2 separate regions of the Homo sapiens genome follow, and region 1 is linked to region 2. Evidence: promoter capture Hi-C in human tissues and cell types (Jung and others, 2019). All regions are on one chromosome and are shown on one strand. The core of a region is centred on a gene start or on the middle of the fragment in contact, and the rest is flanking DNA. Distances in the headings are between cores, read along the strand shown.

Region 1 (3,988 bases), core at 1,182-3,681, 110 kb before region 2:
AAGAAAAAGAAAGGCCTCTGGAGTCAAGAGCATCGCCCTTCCCTGTGCAGTGCACAGTCCCCTTCTCTGAAAAAATAAAAGTTAAAAAAAAAAAACCCTTTCCTCTCTAAGATCTGGAACAGAGAAGAAAATGTGGAAGCATTCTCCTGAACTCACCTTAAAGTATCTCCATCTACAAGGATATGTTTGAACCTCTCCTGATATCGGAAAGCTCGGACCTCTCGAATCTCCCGGATCCGCCGGCGCCAATTCAGAAACCGGTAGTGCAGGTTGAGGTCATCCATCTTGTTCATGAGAACAAACCTGCCAAGGGGAGAAGGGGATTGAGGAGAAAGCAGGGCCCTAGGTAAAGCACCTCAGCCTCTGTGACCCAGAAGGTAGAGAAGGCACTGGCCTTGAGGCCAGCTGCCCAGATTGACCTCAACAACCCTCATCTTCTTTCTTCCATTCAACAAACATTTACCAAGCACCTACTCTGTGTGCTTTTCTCCGTGCTAGGGATGGAGCTGTGAACAAGATGGACAGGATTCCCATTCTCACAGGCTGGGAGGTGGACACGACAGGCAATAAACAGACATAATTTCAGGCAGTGGAGAAAAGAACAGGGTGATATGATAAAGAATCTGGAGGCAGTGGATAGAGTGGACAGAGGCGGTCTCTCTGAGGAGGTGACATTTGAGTTGAAAAGGAGCTAGGCATGACAAGCCAGGCATATTCCAGGCAGGAAGGGCAGCCACAGGTCCTTGGATGGAAGAGAGCTGGCATGGTAGAGAAACAGAAAAAGGCATGGACAGCTGGTATATAGGGAATGTGAGGGAGAATGTACAAGATGAGAATAAGGCAGGAGTCAGATCATGGCCCTACAGACAATGAAATGGTAAGGACTCTGGATTTTATTCCAAGATGGAAATTTCTGGAGGGTTGTAAGCAAGGAAATGCCATGATTGGCTGGGTATGATGGCTCATGCCTGCAATCCCAGCACCTTGGGAGGCTGAGGCAGGAGGATCGCTTGAGGCCAGGACCCAGACCAGCCTGGGCAACGTAGTGAGACCTCATCTCTACTAAAAATTAAAACAATGAGCCAGGTGTGGCAGCATGCACCTGTAGTCCCAGCTACTAAGGAGACTGAAGATGGCTTGAGTCTGGCAGGTCAAGGCTGCAGTCAGTTCTGATTGTGCCACTACATTCCAGCCTGGCTGACAGAGCAAGACCCTGTCTCAAAAAAAAAAGAAAAAAAAATGCCATGATCCTGGGCCTGGTGGCTCACGTCTGTGATCCCAGCACTTTGGGAGGCCGAAGTGGGAGGATCACAAGGTCAGAAGTTGAAGACCAGCCTGACCAACATGGTGAAACCCCATCTCTACTAAAAATACAAACAAATTAGCCAGGCGTGGTGGTGCGCACCTGTAATCCCAGCTACTCAGGAGGCTGAGGCAAGAGAATTGCTTGAACCTGGGAGGTGGAGTTTGCAGTGAGCCGAGATCGTCCCACTGCACTCCAGCCTGGGTGACAGAAACTCCATCTCAAAAAAAAAAAAAAAAGCCACGATCTTAATCAGTTCCTAAAGATCATTCCAGCTGCTGGTTGGAGAACTGATCACAAGAGGATCAAGAACAGATGTGGGCAAACAATTCAGACGTTGTTGCAGCAGTTCACATGAGAAATGACATCCACTAAGTCGGTAGCAGCGCCGATGGATGGGGGTGGGATGATCCAGGTATTTAAACAACCATCAGTCCCTACATATAAATGAATGAATGATTTTTCCTGGGAGCCAAAAGTGAGAAAGAGGTGAAGTACTCTTCTCTTCCCATTCCCTAAACACTGGGACAGGGGTTTTCTTGAGGCCTGACATTGCCTTGCACACGGTAGGTGCTTAGTAAGCCTTGGCTGGGCTGAATTTGATCCCAATACGCAAATTACGACTCTTATGCAGTAGCTACAACCCACCACGTGGCCCAGAAGAGTAGGCACCTGTGGGACAGACAGCCCTAAGATTCCACTCCCGGGCACTCAGCCAGGACTCAACCCCAGGTAGATGCTGGTTGCGCAGACCCCACAGTCTTGGCACCGGCGAGTGGCGGCCCTACTGGGCCCTGTCTCCTCCCCGGGCACGGCCTGATCACTGAGATGAGACCCGGGAGCAGCCGGGCCCCAGCCCATCCGTGTGCCTACGCCCAGTCTCCCCAGGCCCTGCACTGGGCCGAGGGTGCAGCAACAGAAGAAGCCCAGTGACCAGAGCGCAGGGCCCCGCCCCTGGCCCCAGAGCCCCCGCCCAGGACCCCCGCCTTCCGCTTCAGGCTCCGGGGAGATACGAGGCCTCCGGGACCCCGCCCCCGATCCCCGCCTACCGGGGCCGCCGCGTCCTCCTCATCCATAGGCCTCTCAGCTCCGCACACAAGCTCTTCGGCCGCCGCCACCACACACATCCGGGTCCCCGCCTTTCCTTCACTCCTAGAGGCCCGCCCCGTCCCCCATCTAAGCCAATCAGCAACGGCCTCTGACGACGGGCACCTGCAGGAGCCAATCGGAAGGCGCAGGCAGGGTGTGGGGCGCGGCCCGGTGCCCTGGGTACCCAGCTCAGGGCCCCGGTCTGGTCAACCCGGCTGTTGCTGGGGTGAGCGAAGGCGACGTGGCAGCGCGGACGCTGCTGGGTGCCTGGGCGCCGCTGAGGCGGACAGGGGGCGGCTCTTGAGCGGCGCCGGGGAGACGGGACGGGCGGAGAAGGTGGCCACGCTCGCACAAACGTTGCGAGTATTACTTGAGCCCTCCTTCCGCGCTGGACTGAAATAAAAGCTTTACCGGAATGTCCATTTAATCCACGGTGCAGCCTTATGAAATAAATCTTATCTCCTTTTTACGGATGGGCCGAAGGCTGGCCTCGATAGCCTGCGCGCTTAACTGTTATGCTGTGTACCCTCCCGAGCTCTGTTTCATGGCACCGCTCGCTCATTATTGGCAAGAACATTCCATTCCAGGAGGAGAGAACTGGGGATGCAGAAGGCACAGTGGCACGAAGCGGCATTCTGTGGAGGAACACAGGGCTTTGGTAGGCTGAAGGAAAGTTAGACTGGGGTTAGAATGTGAAGGGACGAAGACACGAATATTTATTGAACACCTACTAGGGAGTGCCTACCTGCCATTCTGGGGGGTTGGACTCCTAGATGAGGACTTCCTTGCTCCCTTCCCATCACCATATCTCTCTCTTCTGGACGGAAAAGATTCCTCTCCTCTGTAGCACCTCATTTATAATACTTTTTTTTTTGAGACGGAGTCTCACTCTGTCGCCCAGGCTGGAGTGCAGTGGCGCGATCTCGGCTCACTGCAAGCTCTGCCTCCTGGGTTCACGCCATTCTCCTGCCTCAGCCTCCCAAGTAGCTGGGACTACAGGCGCCCGCCACCACGCCAAGCTAATTTTTTTTGTATTTTTGGTAGAGACGGGGTTTCACCGTGTTAGCCAGGATGGTCTCGATCTCCTGACCTCTTGATCCGCCCACCTCGGCCTCCCAAAGTGTTGGGATTACAGGCGTGAGCCACCGCCCCCCGCCATTTATAACACTTATTACCGTCTTGCTTTCGTTATTGGAGTTACTTGTGTGTGTAGACCCGTCTCTGCTAGACTGTGAGCTCCTTCAGACCCCAGACTATTCTATTCTTATCACACTAGGTACTCTAACGTGTTGAGTGCCAGGAAAGCCATCAGCTCGCATACCGTGAATAGTGCCCACTCGGCATAACGGCAATGGGTGATAGGAATAGATGAGATGGGAAACAGAGAAACCCGGATTAGAGCCCCAATTCTGTGTGACTAAAAGGTCAAGGTCTTGGTGTTCTCATCCCTAAACAAGAATTATTGAAGTATGTGTTCTTTTAGCTCCCTTCCAGCCCCTGGATGACTCAGTTCTGAATAGCTACCCTTCCAACTCATCTCCACCTCCTTTTGATTCCCTCATTGCTTCTCCTCCGCTCCTCTTCTTGTGTTATGAA
Region 2 (3,829 bases), core at 472-2,971:
CTTAACCCTCCCTTTCTTCTCAGTGTTTTTCTCGGACAGATCGATTACTCAGACACAAACGGATGTGCCAAGGGTGCCAGTCCAAGACTTCCGACGGGCAGTTTTCTCTATAGGCGCAAGGGGCCCCGGGTGGTGGGAGTGATCAGAAGAACCTGCCGAAGAGCACACCCCCTCTGGTCTGATGGTCCCACCACCGCCCCATGTGAACCTGTCCCACTCCTGGAGGAGTGGACCCAGGAGACCAGAAGAGTGCATCAGGGGACAGTGGCCCCAGAACCTCAGCTCTGTAAATAATCTGAGACTATGAGTATCTCGGGGAAGTTCTTACAGCATTCCTGGGTAGGGGAGCTAGTCCCTGGACCCTTGGCTGAGGTCATAGGTGGGGACTCAAGGTACAGGACCAAGACTGAAGTGTGGCTCCCACAACCTTGGACTCCAGCTGGCAGCTGAAATGGAAAAGATTGGGGAAGGGGATTTGTTTGTTCTGTTCTTGTTTTTGTTTATCCAAAAGCAACTTCAGCGGGTAAACTGTGGATACAGGTAATCCAGAGGCATAAGAGTCCTGGTCCAAAGTAGGGACTATAGCTGGTCCAGCTCTCCCCAAAAATTGGGTTTTTAGTTGCAGTAGCTCCTCAGTGTTTCACAATCCTGCACTTCGCCTCCTTTTTGAGGAAGAATAAGGTCAGGAATGGCAGCTGAGCTTACTTTGGCTTCCTTATACACTGTAGGGACAAAAGGAAAAACGGGGTGGAGCAGACAAGGGCTGGATCCAAAAAGTGGATGGCACCTCTTCCTTCCTCAAGGGAAAAGGAAGAGTTGTGCCAGTGGGTGTTGTCATGGCCCATGTCACATTGGCACCTGATGGCATCAGCTCAAATGCCTTTAGGAGGAAACTTGGGTGAGAGTGGCCCATGAAGCCCTTTTCTTCTTTTTTTGGGGAGTCGGTCTTGGAGATGGTATGTGGCTACCTCGCTGCCATTGACTCCTAAAGTGAGACAGATGTGTTGAGCAAGGAGTCATGGAAGTCAAAGTGGGTTCTCTCTCCTTGTGCCCTCTTAGGAACAACCCAAGACTGGTCCCAAGTTGGCTAACAGCTGCTCAAGAAACAAAGGAATCTGGGGTCTTCTGACATGCCTGTTGAGCAGTAGGAGCTGTTCTCCCTCCCCAAGTCCTATCACTGTATTCAGGTAGAGGAGGTAGGGAGGGGTCTGTCCTTTGGTCCCAAAAAACAAGATCTCGGCTTGCTTCCTGATGGCCATCCCTACCCAACAGAGTGTGGGGGATGGGGGTGGGGGTGCTGCAGAGAAAAGACTAAAGAAGAAACCTAATGTAGGTTCCATTCTTAACCATATTCTTTGCTCCTCTCTGCTCCAATACCACCACCTTGTCCACTCCCAAAAAAGTAATCGGGTGTGTGTGTGTGTGTGAGAGAGAGTGTGTGTGAGATATGAATGCATGTATTTGTATGCTTGCAGGAGATGGCATATTATTGAGCCAAACCCTTCTCTGGCCCTCACCTTCAGGGAGGATGAGTGGAAAATAGCCTCCTCTTGCCCAAACATGAAGGGTGCTTGAGGTCTCAGCAGGAGCTGAAGAACACAATTTGGGGAACAGAAGGGCTTTTGTTTTGGAGGGTTTTTTTTTTTAAGATGAATTCAACAGCCTGGTGGTTAGGATGTTTCTAACCCAAGCCAGGGCTTGTGAACATGAATTTTCTAAGGTGAAATAAACCTTTTCTTTCTGCTAAAGAAAGAATCCTTATGGGAAGTTTTGGGGTTTGGTTGACCCCCACTGTAACCTGACCTGACCTGTGGCGGGTACGGGAACTGTCTTAGTAATCATGGAGACTGGCTGAACCTGAGTGCCAAGCTGTCAGTAGGGTCTGAGATGGGAAACTCCTGAAAGTATGATTTCATTTCCCAGAAAATGTAAAGAATGGATACCAGCAATGATTCCTGGCTGTTACCTATTCTGGAGGGGTGGGGTTGGGGAGGGGGTTGTCCATACCTCTGTGGTATGAGTATTTCAGGGAAAAAGAAAGCAGGCATGGCACCCATTCGATTTTCCCTGACAGCATCTGAGATCCTTTTGGGGAGACGCTGAGGAGTGTTTGCTGCCATGTACTCTTACAGCTCTATGCTGACACTCCCATTTGATGTGGTCCAGAACTTAGACCTCAGTCCTTGGATCAGCCCTGTGGTCCCTGCAAGCAGGGGCATCTTTCTGCATGTGAGCCAGCCCCCTTCCTGTTCAAGGGTTCTGCTGGATCTGGGCTTTTCCTGTCCTTCACTTCTGGGATGATTCACCCCACATCTTCCAGTACCCTGTAAACCATTTTAAAATATTTAGAAAACTATCCTCCCAAAAATGCTTTTGAAAATGAGAGCCCTCTGTCCCTGCCACTTACAGCTAGTCTCTTTGGGATAGGGGTGTATGTGGAGAGATTCATGTAAGTCTCACATGAGTGACCTGTGCCCCTATGTGTACTAATGTGTGTACTGGGTCAGAAGGTGCCCTGGGTTCCCACAGACCTTGGTTTCCTGCCTGGGTGGGTGGGAGGGAGGGAACTTCAGAGAGTATGTGCGAACAGCCATAGCAGAGCCACCCCTGCCAAGGACCCAGTGAGGGAAACTCAGGAGCAGGTGGTTGGTTCAGTTCCCGCGCTGATGTCTGGGGCAGTGCATGTGTGAGAAGAGAGGCGCAAAGCAGTGAAAGGAGTGATTTGGCATCCAGAGGGCCCGGGAGCCCCACGGATACCCCAGGGAAGCCACTGACTCACACCGCTGCAGAGGCTCCTGGGCCCAATGCCCGACCCCTGCTGGCCAGCATGGGGCCTAGCACTGGAAGATGCCTCAGGTGTGTTTGGAGTGGGGGAAACGGAAGTAGGGCACGCTCTCAGAGACCAGGATAGAGAGTCAGGGAACCTGGGAAAGAGTAGTGCCAGTTCCGGGTAGGCTGCTGCACCAGGCCCTACCAGCTCAGGCTATAAACAGTCTGCTTTGCCCCAAGTCTTTTCCGTCCACCCCCAACAGCCTTGTCATCACTTAGCTACTGATCACGCCCATGGCTTGACATTGGAGGGTTACATTAGTGGAGTCCGCCACAGCTTCGAACCCTCTCCCCAGATGCCCTTTGCCTCTGCTGTGGCCCTGGGGTTTTATCAACTGTCCCCTTCCTATCCTCCTCTCCACCCTGTTTTTTGTTTTTTTTTTTTTTAAATAATATTTTGCTATGGGGGAGGGGAATATCAAATGGACAAGATCACTTTTAAATGGTAGTTTTTATAAGATGTTATAAACTTGTATCTTTTTACCATTAAAGTGCAGTGTATGTTCCTTCGTGATATATTTAGGATATTTAAATAAAAGGAAAATGGGGCTTTTCTACATACTATCTCCTCTTTGGGGAAGCTTTTTCATACTGGTTTTAGTTGTTTTCCTTTTTTCTCCCTACATAATCACCCCACAACTTCCAGCACCCTATAAGCCATTTTAAAACCCCTTCTCCACAGAGGAACAAGCAAGTAGGAGCAAAAACAGGGCATCAGTTCTGAGCAAGACGAAAAAGCACACGCAGCAGGACGGAAGGAGGCTAGACACCAACAGATGCAGTGTCTCTGACCTGGGACCCCCCTGCATCCGCAGCACTTGAGAATTCATAGGCCCTTTCCAGACCTGGCTTCCTGGGTCCCAGGGTGCACCCCGGGAGTTTCCTGCACATTCGCGCTTGGGCACCTCTCCCTGCCCTCAGGTGGCAAGAGGAGGATGGACAAGAGCTTTCCCGAGGCCCAGGCTATAAACAGTCTGCTTTGGCCTTGATGAGGTAAAGC

The links. Contacts are between HindIII fragments. The study calls those that stand out against the background at their distance.
Region 1: a contact is called between the fragment with the promoter of SPRYD3 here and a fragment that was not itself captured in region 2, in 4 of the 25 tissues and cell types used here (IMR-90 fibroblasts, adrenal gland, dorsolateral prefrontal cortex and 1 more).

The regions. Positions count from the first base shown.
Region 1 is chr12:53,076,959-53,080,946 of GRCh38, forward strand. SPRYD3 (SPRY domain containing 3) reads right to left here and starts at 2,432. Exons shown (of 11, transcript NM_032840.3): 1 at 2,353-2,432; 2 at 157-303. The coding sequence starts at 2,375. RefSeq lists a silencer at 2,133-2,412. The HindIII fragment of the contact is 7,407 bases long and covers 1-3,988 here.
Region 2 is chr12:53,187,478-53,191,306 of GRCh38, forward strand. It overlaps ZNF740 (zinc finger protein 740), which reads left to right. Exons shown (of 7, transcript NM_001004304.4): 7 at 24-3,829. The coding sequence ends at 113. Among named protein-coding and RNA genes, the nearest start is that of CSAD, 8.5 kb to the left of the region's middle. RefSeq lists a silencer at 2,608-2,902. The HindIII fragment of the contact is 6,057 bases long and covers 1-3,829 here.